3 separate regions of the Homo sapiens genome follow, and regions 1 and 2 are each linked to region 3. Evidence: promoter capture Hi-C in human tissues and cell types (Jung and others, 2019). All regions are on one chromosome and are shown on one strand. Each heading gives the region's core, a stretch centred on a gene start or on the middle of the fragment in contact. The rest is flanking DNA. Distances are from core to core; before and after follow the strand shown. Region 1 overlaps OR4M2-OT1 (OR4M2 overlapping transcript 1). Region 2 has its middle 31 kb from the start of OR4N4. Region 3 holds the start of OR4M2 (olfactory receptor family 4 subfamily M member 2).

Region 1 (4,559 bases), core at 224-2,723, 50 kb before region 3:
CAAGCTATTTCTCCCAACATTCAAAGTGGACAACTAAGTATATTGCTACCGAATCATTGGCTTACGAGGATTTCCTCCACCACTACATTCTATGGCTACTCTGGAGAGGCGTTAAGCTGCAGCATTAGTCAGTTTTTATCTTGTCTAAGTGTAGATTCAGACAATCCATTTGTGATCCAAGCCTGAGGCTCTTTCTTCATTTATTAGCTGGTTGTGTGAAATACCATGAAGCCATAGGTATGAACTGAGGAAGAGATATTGTCACAATGAAGGCATGTTTGTATCTTATGGAAATGCTTTTTACTGTATCTAATAGTTTTCAATTCATTCTATCAAGTGCCAGCAAGCTCAATATGAGATAGAATTTAATATTGGTAAGATAAGATTGGTTAATGATCAATTTGAAGATAATTACAAATATGGGCACTGTGCACATTTATAACAGTTGAGATTATATTTTATTAAGAATTTCTATCATTTTTTCTCATATAATTAAGAAATATAAACAAAACTGGCATGGACAGGTGAAACTCAGTGTTAAATTTATCAGCACTTTAAAGAGATCCCACCGTTGAAGTCAGTTTGAATGAAGTTCTAAATTGTTTGTATTTTCTTCCTATATAAAAGAGGTTTTCAGGCAAGTATTTAGCTATTTAATTTACATTTCACATGTGAGGTATAATAAAACAACCACTCTTTTCCCCAGAACTCATATAAATCCTGCCTTTCAAACCCAGAAAATATTCTCAACTCAGCTTCCTTGTGACACAAAAACTAATTGCAGTTGCACCTCATTTTGTGGAGCAAATAGCTATGATGGCTTACAAATTAAAATTCTGTAAACTACATTTCATATTGTGATTCCTTTTCATTAAGTTTTTGAGAGTTGTATTTGAAAAAATGGCATAGAACGAAACAAAAGTCAAAATTAAAGCAAGATATTAGTCAAATATTTTATAAAATGGATTTTAAGAGTTTTATTTTAGTACTGTCCAGCAGTACTCAAATAAGTCACACAGTATTAATACTAAATTAGTTATGGTATCAAATCCTGTGTTTAAACTGGGTTTACAACAAAGAAAGCTATATCCTGAGTAATGCTCACCTTTTTGTTTAGGTCTTTGCTGCACTATATTCCAGGTAACGAATCTGCTTTAAATTCCTAATTCTTGGTTGTGTACTCTCTGAAAAAACACTGAATATCAAACTAAGGCTATTAGTCTATTTATATAATGTAAAGACCACTTGCTACATTTTGACAAGCTGGACTACTTAAAACTTGGCTCTTTTTCAGCCAGTATCTCTTAGTGGATAATGATTGGATTATAGTGTTAATTGTGAGAGCAGTCTATGATATCTGTCACATGTGTTACCAATTGCTTTAGCTCAGTAATACAAAAAGGACGTCTGCATTCTTTTTAAAAAGTTGGGTTACATATACACGTTCTGATTAGCATAGACATAGAATTTTACATACGTATTATTCACTTCAACAGAAAATCTAATTCACTGTTGAAACATTCTTAAATAAGACCACAGTAATGCAGATTGTGGTGAGTGGTGTTTAAGATGTTAATGGCTCATTATTATAGCAGTTCTTAAATAAAACAATAAATTTGTAGACAAATATTCATGTATAATAAAGTTACATTTGATAAATGAAAATTCTCTTATTTATATTTTATTAACATCTTTTCCAGTCCTGAAGATTTTCCTCAGATAATCTTTCATCTCTTTGTTCCTGAGACTATATATTAGAGGATTACAGAGTGGTGTTATCACAGAAAAGAACAAGGTAATGATTTTTTCATTTTTACTGGGTGTGCTGATCCAGGACTAACATACATCACCATGATAGAGCCATAAAATAAGGTGACAACTGCCAAATGAGAGGCACAAGTGGAGAAAGCTTTTCGTTTGCCAGCCTCTGAAGGCATCCGTATTATAGCCAGAATCACCAGAGCATAGGAACAAAGGATAAAGAGAAAGGTGCCAATTATGAAGACAGAATTGAATGTGGAGTAAATGAGCTGGGTGATGATGATGTCTTCAGAACAGGACAGCATCTTCAATGGGACGGGATCACAAATAAAATGGTTGATAATATTTGGGCCACAGTAGGATAGCTGTGAAATGAGAATCACCAGAGTTAGGAAGATTACAAAGACACATGACCATGCAAAAATGATGAGGCCAGTGCATACTTGTTTAGTCATGATGCATGGATAACGTAGAGGGCGGCAGATGGCAAGATACCTGTCAAAGGCCGTGATGCAAAGGAAGAAGCCCTCATCATACCCCAAAGAGAAGAAGTAGAACTGTGCAAAACAACTCATGAATGAGATGGACTTGCTTGTGGAGAGGAAGTTGGCCAGCAGTTTAGTTGCAGTAACATAACATATTTCCAGGAGAGAGAAATTTCCCAAGAGGGTGTACATGGGAGTGTGAAGGTGCTGGTCCTACCACACAGCACAGACAATGGCTGCATTTCCCATCGGGGTGAGAGTATAGGCTACTGAGAAGAGACCGAAGTAGAGGAGCTGCATTTCTGGGCTTGAGGGAAAGCCCATGAGGATAAGGCAGCTAACAAAATTGATAGTTTCCATGCTGAACACATTCATTAGTCTGGAAGACATGGAGATGGCAGAGGTAACTGAAACATGAAAGGGAGTGTGCTGTTTCTTCTTGGAAACAACCAAAATTCTTCATCATGTATATTATAAAGTAGTAAACAATTAGACTTTTGTTTAAACAACAAAACTGTGACTTTCATGACTCAATTCCTACACATGTTTATTTTAATAAATCACAACAATAGAAGGGAAAATATGAATTGTGGAGAGTTTTTTTTCTTGCTAAGAACACTAGACTTGAAACCAGGAATGCAAATTTTGTGATTCCAATAAATTACCTATATACAATGGGTCTACTCTTTCTTCTGTTTACCTGCATTATTGATACTGTATTTATCTGGGTATGTAGTTCTTTCAACAGTACTATGAATACCTGATTCATTATTATTAGTGGTATAAAAATAAAATACAAAACCAAGATATTTAAAAATACTCTTTCTCAATATAGTGCCATGCCAGGGCACAAATTAATATTTACTTTCAATTTCAGCTACTCCCGGTTACTTGTAGTGTTTTAAAGTGGTAATAAGAAAGAACTCTGTCATTAGAGAATATATGGTCTTTTATGCTGTTTCATGTATCTGTACCAATGTTTAGCATAAAAAATACATTCTTTCATTTTTAGGCAGCTGGATACGCTATATGCTGTGAGGAAGCGTGCCATACTTTGGCTCTTAAATTGCTCTGACTAAATATTTTTATATGCTTCCAGGTGAATGTAAGAACTTCATATGCCTATTATGACATTGACCTTAGGGAGAACAGCTGGTCTGCGTGACTGTGGCCAAGTTCAATGTGCTTGTTTTTTGTTAACCATGGTCAAGTCAGCTGCAGGAAAATAAGAAAGGCAGATAAAGTTTATATTACAAAAGTTTCCATGTTTTTTATTCACTGCTTTCTTCCACATGTTCCTTTTCTTCCTTTGACCTTTGGTGTTATTTTGCATCTCACTGTGGTTGTTTTCTGAGGCCTTTCCTATCTAGGCAAATCCGAAACATAAAACTTTTCGCCTGATTACCCTCCGGTTAACTTCTAGCCCAAATAACAACAAAAACAAGAAAAAGTCATATGAGCTGAAGATTTTTGTTTCTTAAATAATAACTAATTTGTATAATACCAAGTCTTATTAATGTAATGGAACTGAAAAATCAGTATTTGGGCTTAAGAAAGAAAATATTGCTGGAAAGAGAAATATGCCATATTTCTTCTGCTCACCAAGTAACAAAAATTGCCAAAATATACCCTTCTCCAGCAATTCATCAGTTAATATACATCTTCACTTGAAATACTATTCTTTTTGTATAAATGGCTATTCATATTTTAAAGGGATATGAACCATAATTGGAAAATATTTTCCAGATTTCAGGGAAACAAGAAGAAAAACTTATATTTTTCAGCTTCATTCTTTGCCAGCTTTTCATTCTGAGATATATTTTTAGTTTTCTCAAAGACAAGAAGAAAACATTTTCTATGATTTTTGCAAAAAAAACTGGGTGACTCACATGTTATATACTTCCCATTCGCTCTTTGAGTGAATGCTGAGAAGGTCAGGGACAGGAGACAAAATATTATTCCCCAGAGCCAAAGACATGTGAAGAACTTCCAAGAAATTGCATGATCCTGTTTGTTATCTCTCATGGGTTGCAAAAAGTAAACCCTAAAAGATTTTCCCCACCTTCAAAGCATATATTAATGGTCAAAATGCAAGCTCAAGTGAGTGTATTATATATATCTATTTACTTGCACTATAGCCTTTTGGGACTTGGAGCTCTGTCTCTCTTGGGATATTTTGATAGTGTTTGTTTAAAAGAGGATAACATTTTGAATTTTCACAATCAAAAGCCAGTTCTTACTGTCCCCTAAAGAATAGTGAAAATGTAGAAGCAGATCTTATCTTTTCTTTCTTCTTTCGTGTTCATGTATTGT
Region 2 (4,203 bases), core at 777-3,276, 45 kb after region 3:
GATCTACAAAATATTTTTTCCTATTACAATTTTGCATGTGTTTGTATGTGTGTGCATACGTGTGTGTTCATGTGGTATTTGCATATGTATATATGATGATGTGTTAAAATATGACTTTCATAAATTCCACATGTGGCTGCCAGTAACACCCAGAAATTTCTGTATTAACCACTCTATTCCACTCTAGGGATACATAAAGCAGATAGTTTTAATGCTTCTTAAAATATGTACCCTAAGATGACACTATATAGATGTGCTGTCTGTCTTTTGGTGTTTGTTTGCTTGTTTGTTTGCTTGTTTGGTGTTTGTTTGCCTGATTTTCTATTTCTCTCTTCTTTCTTCCCTCATCCTCTATCTTCTTGTCTTTCTTTTCTAGGTACTGTTGCAGTAGCATTTTCTGTCAAAGATTTTCCCTTCCTTCCGTACCCCATGTGCTAGAGCACTTATTTATTTATTTATTTATTTATTTATTTATTTATTTATTTTGAGACAGAGTCTCGCTCTGTCACCCAGGCTGGAGTGCAGTGGCATGATCTCGGCTCACTGAAAGCTCTGCCTCCTGGGTTCACACCATTCTCCTGCCTCAGCCTCCTGAGTAGCTGGGACTACAGGCAACCACCACCACTACGGCTAATTTTTTTTGTATTTTTTTAGTAGAGACGGGGTTTCACCATGTTAGCCAAGATGGTCTCGATCTCCTGACCTCGTGATCCACCCGCCTTGGCCTCCCAAAGTGCTGGGATTACAGGCATAAGCCACCACGCCCGGCCGCTAGAGCACTTATTTAAAACAAATACACTGTTTAGTTAAATCATATTAAGAATATCCTTTTATATTACAGTTTGTATTTTGTTGTAGGCCAACAATTTTCAAACTTAAAAAATTTACTCCCCTAAGACATTTTTTGAATATGTAACCTTAAATGTATGCATATTTATTTATAAAGTATATATAAACCATTGTACTATGTTATCCATTATAAATATTAAAAAGTGAATTTAGAAAAGAATGAAATGTAGTGATACATATAAAATGTTATACACTGACTAAATATAGATAAATTACTATGTTCTTTCTATACTTCAGTGGATTATCATGTGCACCTTCTGGAATGAGTATACCCCATGAAAACAATCTGAATTTTAAATATGAATTTTCTTCACAATGGACATTGTTTTTCTTTTTATTTAAACAAGGTTGAACTTACAAATCAAAGCAATACGGGAGTGATTTTAGACTAGCAATATTATCTTTAGTTATTCAGATGCACAAAAAGAACATTCATTCATTGAAGCTGTGATTAAAAAATTCTTTATCTATTTAAACTGAATAGTATACACTTGCATTATCCTACTACTTATCAAGCAGAGCAAAAAATAAAACTCACTCTAAACTTAAGTAATATAACTACAGGTTATTTCTCATCTTTGAAATGGAAGAATAACACTACAGTATCTTTATGGCTACTTACAGTGTATCTATGCTATGATCTTATGAGTTGAGATAATGATATTTTAAAGTTTTATACTTGCAAATTTTATATTGTAGCATATTTTTTGTTAAAGGGCTGTATCTTGGGTGTCATACTTGGAACAGAGAAAGAAATGTGTTGTGAGTTTATTAGTATTTGAAACTCAAAAAGTGCTAAATAAGCTGCATGCAGGTGTGGAGTGGCCACAGGAGTGGTGTTCAAACAGAGTTACAGCTGGAGCACTGTGCCTGTGTTAGGTCAAAAGTGGAGCTATAGCTTGGGATTCTCGTGAACAGTCTGGGAAAAGAGTATTCAAGGATATCAGACCAAAAGGAGTATAATAAGAAGTAAATTAGATGATAAGACAGAGGGCAAGGAAGAGAGTTACCAGCTAGGAACTGGGAATTACACAGGAACTGAGGGAAGAAAATGTCTAGGAAAATTTGGGGGTGGTGTGGACAAGGAGAAAAAGGGTCTAATCCCAAGAAAAGAACTAACCCTCAAGCATAGTATATCCAAAAAACTCAAAGACCTTCAGATTTGAAGTTAGGTTGTGTCTCCATTAGGAAACTTACATGATTTAGGAATGTAGGAATCCCAACGTGGAGGATACCAGACTCCTAACATGGAAAATGATTCTGTAGAAGCACATGGTTGAATGGGAATAAACCTGTAGCTTTGAGAACCATATTTTGTTTTCATTTTTCATTTTAAATTTGGAGAAATTAAGGTAACGGAGTTTCCCCAGAATAGGAGAGGGATGGGAAGTGTTGTTTTTAGCTGAAGTACTATATGTGCCAAATATTTTTTAGCTGTAGAACTAGTATCTAGTTGGAAGACATAGCAATAACAATTAATTCTGCTTCTTAATGTACTGCAGGCCAGGGAAATGGAAAGCGAGAACAGAACAGTGATAAGAGAATTCATCCTCCTTCGTTTGACCCAGTTTCGAGATATTTAGCTCCTGGTCTTTGTGCTAGTTTTAATATTCTACTTCTTCATCCTCCCTGGAAATTTTCTCATTATTTTCACCATAAGGTCAGACCCTGGGCTCACAGCCCCCCTCTATTTATTTCTGGGCAACTTGGCCTTCCTGGATGCATCCTACTCCTTCATTGTGGCTCCCAAGATGTTGGTGGACTTCCTCTCTGAGAAGAAGGTAATCTCCTACAGAGGCTGCATCACTCAGCTCTTTTTCTTGCACTTCCTTGGAGGAGGGGAGGGATTACTCCTTGTTGTGATGGCCTTTGACCGCTACATCACCATCTGCCTGCCTCTGCAGTATTCAACTGTCATGAACTCTAGAGCCTGCTATGCAATGATGTTGGCTCTGTGGCTTGGGGGTTTTGTCCACTCCATTATCCAGGTGGTCCTCATCATCCGCTTGCCTTTTTGTGGCCCAAACCAGCTGGACAACTTCTTCTGTGATGTCCGACAGGTCATCAAGCTGGCTTGCACCGACATGTTTGTGGTGGAGCTTCTGATGGTCTTCAATAGTGGCCTGATGACACTCATGTGCTTTCTGGGACTTCTGGCCTCCTATGCAGTCATTCTTTGTCGCATACGAGCGTCTTCTTCTGAGGCAAAAAACAAGGCCATGTCCACATGCACCACCCATATCATTGTTATATTCTTCATGTTTGGACCTGGCATCTTCATCTACACGTGCCCCTTCAGGGCTTTCCCAGCCGACAAGGTGGTTTCTCTCTTCCACACAGTGATTCTTCCTTTGTTGAATCCTGTCATTTATACCCTTCATAACCAGGAAGTGAAAGCTTCCATGAAAAAGGTGTTTAATAAACACATAGCCTGAAAAAGGGCAAAAAAAAAAAGAATAAAAATAGACTGTAGAATTTTATCTGAAATTGATTTGTTTATTTCCAAGTACTGCAATCATTGAATACCTCCCATTTGTCAGGACTATTCTAGGAACTGAAGAAAGAAAGTATTGAGGCAGATAAGGTCTATCTGCTCTCCAAGAGATACAACCTAGTAAAAATAGACCGCCGTTAAGGTAGAAAATAAACAGCATAGTTTCAGGAAGAGATACTGCTCTGTAAAAACTAAAACGAAAAGTGAAATGATAAACTGTGACTCTGGATTGGGAGTAACCAATTTGTGTTTAATAATAAAAAAAGGCCTTGAAGAGCTGACATTTTGGATCATATCTGGATAAACTGAAGAAGCCAAACATGCAAACTTTTGTGGCTATAGTATGGTAGACAGAGGGCACAGGCAGTGCAAAAACTCAAAGATGATGATGAACTTGGTATATTTGAAGAATACAATAAAGTCCATGTTACCAAGAATATAGTAATTTAATGTGAAAATGATTAAACTTAAAGTTAGAGATACTGGTAGTGTCAAAAACATATGGTCTACATAGTAAATGTGAGTTTTCATTTTATTACAATTACAATAAGAAGCCATTCTGTGGCTTTAAGCAAAAGAGTGATTCCTCTACTGAAGGGTCATAAATGACTTAGGGCTGTAAACTCAAGATTCTATGCAGATATCAAAGAGTTGAAAAATATCATTAAGAGGAAAATATTATATTTGTAAGTGCACTTTGAAAGATATTAAACTACCAATTTTTCTTACATACGTAAGCAGAGAGTGGCAAAAGAAAGCTGGTTACTTTTACTGAAAAAGATCAAAAAAAATTTTACTTTTTTTTTCTGCAGCTTCATTATTAATCCTAGCAAATTTTTATGACTTTTAGCTGTATGTTT
Region 3 (4,419 bases), core at 679-3,178:
TAAATTCTTTCTAGATTAGTGCCATTTTCTACTTCTGTTTTGGTGGAATGGGTATGGAGTAGAGCAGAGGAAGAAGGGGTGATTTGTGTGATGACACTCAGAATCATTGCATCATGTCCCCATAATAATAAAAAAGCATATGATCTTGTAATGGTATTTACTGCTTTAAAATATTCATCTCCTTTCAATAATAAAGGGACAATTATTTACTTAGGAACAAATAATCGCTTCCATCTGGTCAAAAACTACATAGCATTATAGCAAAATATGTAAATGAGCTGAGTAATCATAATATTTCAGATGCTTTTGTTAGAAATTTATTTGATTGTTGGAACCTCATAGTTGACTTATCAGTGAATGTAAATGAGTTAGTATATAACTAGCTCATAGCCCTCATAACTAATAACACAATGTTGTGTTATTAGTTATGAGGGCTATGAGCTGCCTCCTCCAGGTAAGTACAATAAGATCATTGTTTCTTGGAATGTTAGGAAATATTTCATTCTGGATAACCTTATTATCTTTCTTTTGATTAAAATCTTCCTAAACCAAATTTTAAATTTTTCAATCTTATTAAATATGCTTCATTAACTCACTGAGGTCCACACTGGGCAATTTATGGACAAGGGGAAATTGATCCCTTTTCTAAATAGTCCCACACTATTCAATTTCTGAGTATTTTTACCTTTCTTCCGCTTGCTACCAGATTCCTGGAAAACACTGGTTTTATGTGTGTGTGTCTGCTTGTAGTAAGCCATCCCTTTTTCAAAATACAATGCTTCTATAAGATATTGAAAGTCATTTATCTATGTTTGTTAAAATTATGTGTAAATTGAGTCAGTAGGTTCCAAAAATGGCGCATTTAATTTCTTTTCTCAGTAGTATACATAGTGCCCATAAGTGTTTGGACACAGCCACGTCTATTTGGTTTTACAGAACCTTAACTTTTTAAAAATTCCTTTTCATATTTAATTTTTTTAAGTAATAGGAGAGGCAATATCATAAAATATCACATCAACAGAAAAGAAACAACTCTCTTGTATTTGCTGTTGGTTACAACAAAACTTACTTTGGTGTGGCAGTTTTTAACCTTACTTAAAGAAAAGCATATTTGGTAATGTGAACTGTTATTTCATTTTTATTTGACAAGTTTTGTGCTATTAGTGGTGTCAGATTCAATACAGGGCAGTAAGCAAAATTTTAAAAATAATATTATTCCCATTGTCACCTTGAAACAGCAGAGCAGATCAGCTCAGAATCAAATTGGGTAGCAAGCATACTCATTTCTCAGATCAGTACACCTACTTACGTTCCTGCTGTGGTGAGCAAATTTTATACTCAATGTAGTATCAGGTATTGATGAATCTGGTCACAGCTAGAAGAATTTTTTATATAGGGCCTTGCATAGCTGTATGTTGTGGCTGGTTACCTGTTACCAAGGATTAAGCTGTACAGGTTTTGGTTACAGTTACGGAAAAATATGTCCCTTCACTACTTATGAAGCCTTGGGATCTCTTTTCTGTATCACAACTAAAGTACTGCTAGATCTGTGTGTGTGCTATTAGAATGCAAGCCTAAGTTTCCAAGTTGGCAAGATTTCCCAACAAAAAAAAAGATATAGAAAAAAGAGGCCACATCTCTGATTGCCAGTCTAAAATTTGGCTACACTCAGAAGTAGCTTCACATATTGCTTACTAATGTAGATGTTTGGGGGAAGAAGTAGTGCATTGCCAAATTTCAGAAAAAGTAAGTTTTTAACATTAACAAGCTGAGATTTGAGTTTCAAATATATGCCACACTTCATATAGTTTTAATGTTTCCAATTTGTAACTTCATCACATACTCTCTCCCTCTTGGTTTATCAGATATAAAATGGGCAACCAAATGTATCCTCGTGTAATCTGTTAGTGACAGGGAACGTATGACAATTTTGAAAGCAGTGATATAACTCTAGGTAAATGCTATGTCTACTAATTATAGTTTCTTAATTTTCATAGCTATATTATGAAAAGAGTAAATTGAAGAAATGGAAACTGCAAATTACACCAAGGTGACAGAATTTGTTCTCACTGGCCTATCCCAGACTCCAGAGGTCCAACTAGTCCTATTTGTTATATTTCTATCCTTCTATTTGTTCATCCTACCAGGAAATATCCTTATCATTTGCACCATCAGTCTAGACCCTCATCTGACCTCTCCTATGTATTTCCTGTTGGCTAATCTGGCCTTCCTTGATATTTGGTACTCTTCCATTACAGCCCCTGAAATGCTCATAGACTTCTTTGTGGAGAGGAAGATAATTTCTTTTGATGGATGCATTGCACAGCTCTTCTTCTTACACTTTGCTGGGGCTTCGGAGATGTTCTTGCTCACAGTGATGGCCTTTGACCTCTACACTGCTATCTGCCGACCCCTCCACTATGCTACCATCATGAATCAACGTCTCTGCTGTATCCTGGTGGCTCTCTCCTGGAGGGGGGGCTTCATTCATTCTATCATACAGGTGGCTCTCATTGTTCGACTTCCTTTCTGTGGGCCCAATGAGTTAGACAGTTACTTCTGTGACATCACACAGGTTGTCCGGATTGCCTGTGCCAACACCTTCCCAGAGGAGTTAGTGATGATCTGTAGTAGTGGTCTGATCTCTGTGGTGTGTTTGATTGCTCTGTTAATGTCCTATGCCTTCCTTCTGGCCTTGTTCAAGAAACTTTCAGGCTCAGGTGAGAATACCAACAGGGCCATGTCCACCTGCTATTCCCACATTACCATTGTGGTGCTAATGTTTGGGCCATCCATCTACATTTATGCTCGCCCATTTGACTCGTTTTCCCTAGATAAAGTGGTGTCTGTGTTCAATACTTTAATATTCCCTTTACGTAATCCCATTATTTACACATTGAGAAACAAGGAAGTAAAGGCAGCCATGAGGAAGTTGGTCACCAAATATATTTTGTGTAAAGAGAAGTGAAAGATAAATTATACATTTTATAGTTCCCCTGAGGATCATTGTCCTAAAGCAGGAAGTATTTGCAGTAATAATGCTGCATTGACTTCCTCCTTTCATTTGTGTTATTAAAATTTTACTATAATTTTTCTCTATTCATTCCTCTTTATATTGAAAAAATAGAGGCATTAAGATGAAAATAAATTTACTCACACCTACCCTGAAATTCCCAACAGATCATTATTAGAATTTGAGATATAATAATCTGCTAAAGTACATTTTAACTAATTGTTTATTGAGTACTCTGCAGAGGCTCTGGCTTTGACGGGAACATGTTGAGAAAAATAAATAAGACATGAGACGTGTCTATTACAAATATGAAGTAAATGGCAAGCATATGGATGCAGCTAGCTTCAAGTTAGCAAATAAATATTGTTGTCATGTTTCAGTGTTGGCTCAGTGGAATGGTATCTGGTCAACATCTTGCTGGGTCTGGAAAAACAGATTATTTGTCCTTTATCTCCTCTTATTTCCAGAGTTGATGGAAAATGAGGATTTTCCATCAACTTATAAACTGAAATACCTTATAAAGGTATTTCAGTTTATATTTCAGGTGGTGTCTATTCAACAGTTTGGAGACAGAACTCAAAATTTTATCACATTATGAAAACAATTTTTATGAATTCAAAGCAGAGTATAATTTGGCTGATACATGAGATTCATGTCATTCCAGATGAAGCCTCCAGGCAACTAGCAATTTTTGTAGCCAGTCCCTACTTACATCCTTCAGAGTGAAAGCAGCCTTGGGGAGAAAGCTTCTAGGTTGACTGGGATTGGTAGACATCTAGCCGTGTAATTTTTTTCTAAACTATCATCTCCTTTGCCACTTTTGTATGTTTTCCATAATTGCTAATTCTGCCTCTCATGTTAAACTTAAATTGGTAGAGTGCTGTTTTTGTTAGTGCTTAATTCAGAGTTCTTTCCCATTGACAGACCTAGACGTATTGGTTCCCATGATCCCTTAGAGAATTATTAGGGACTGATTTCCTATTCTCAAGCACTAAAAACTCACTCTCCAAGCTTCAGAATGTAAGAGGTAGATTAGAACATTTGATTTTATAGGTTATGTTTTTACTTAAATTTATTAGTTTTTAATTTCAAAACTAGGGAATCTTTTCATTGAAGGGCAAGAATGCATTGGGTATATTAATCTTTAGTCTTCTTTTTTAAATTTGATAATGTAATATGGACTAAATTTTAAGTGAATTAGATCCTTGTCAACATTGGGAATGAATATATAGAAACAAATGGTATAACTATTCCTAGAGTTACTATTTATTTACAGATATATTATTTATTAATTGAGGAGGTAATTTGTGCCAGACCCAGTGTATCTCAGATGCACAGGATGGAATGGTGGTACACAAAGCTTGTTTTTTGCTTTGGGAATTTTTCCTTATGGTGACCTTCTTCGA

Evidence for each region. Contacts are between HindIII fragments. The study calls those that stand out against the background at their distance.
Region 1: a fragment that was not itself captured here is called in contact with the fragment with the promoter of OR4M2 in region 3 in 2 of the 25 tissues and cell types used here (bladder and spleen).
Region 2: a contact is called between a fragment that was not itself captured here and the fragment with the promoter of OR4M2 in region 3, in 8 of the 25 tissues and cell types used here (adrenal gland, aorta, bladder and 5 more).

Annotation. Positions count from the first base shown.
Region 1 is chr15:22,029,226-22,033,784 of GRCh38, forward strand. It overlaps OR4M2-OT1 (OR4M2 overlapping transcript 1), which reads left to right. Exons shown (of 9, transcript NR_110480.2): 4 at 1,701-1,795. It also overlaps the pseudogene OR11K1P. Among named protein-coding and RNA genes, the nearest start is that of OR4M2-OT1, 41 kb to the left of the region's middle. The HindIII fragment of the contact is 4,215 bases long and covers 1-3,581 here.
Region 2 is chr15:22,123,151-22,127,353 of GRCh38, forward strand. It overlaps the pseudogene OR4N3P. Among named protein-coding and RNA genes, the nearest start is that of OR4N4, 31 kb to the left of the region's middle. The HindIII fragment of the contact is 6,844 bases long and covers 1-4,203 here.
Region 3 is chr15:22,078,599-22,083,017 of GRCh38, forward strand. It overlaps OR4M2 (olfactory receptor family 4 subfamily M member 2), which reads left to right and starts at 1,929. Exons shown (of 1, transcript NM_001004719.2): 1 at 1,929-3,012. The coding sequence starts at 2,027. The coding sequence ends at 2,968. All of the region lies in intron 7 of OR4M2-OT1 (OR4M2 overlapping transcript 1), which reads left to right. The HindIII fragment of the contact is 6,887 bases long and covers 1-4,198 here.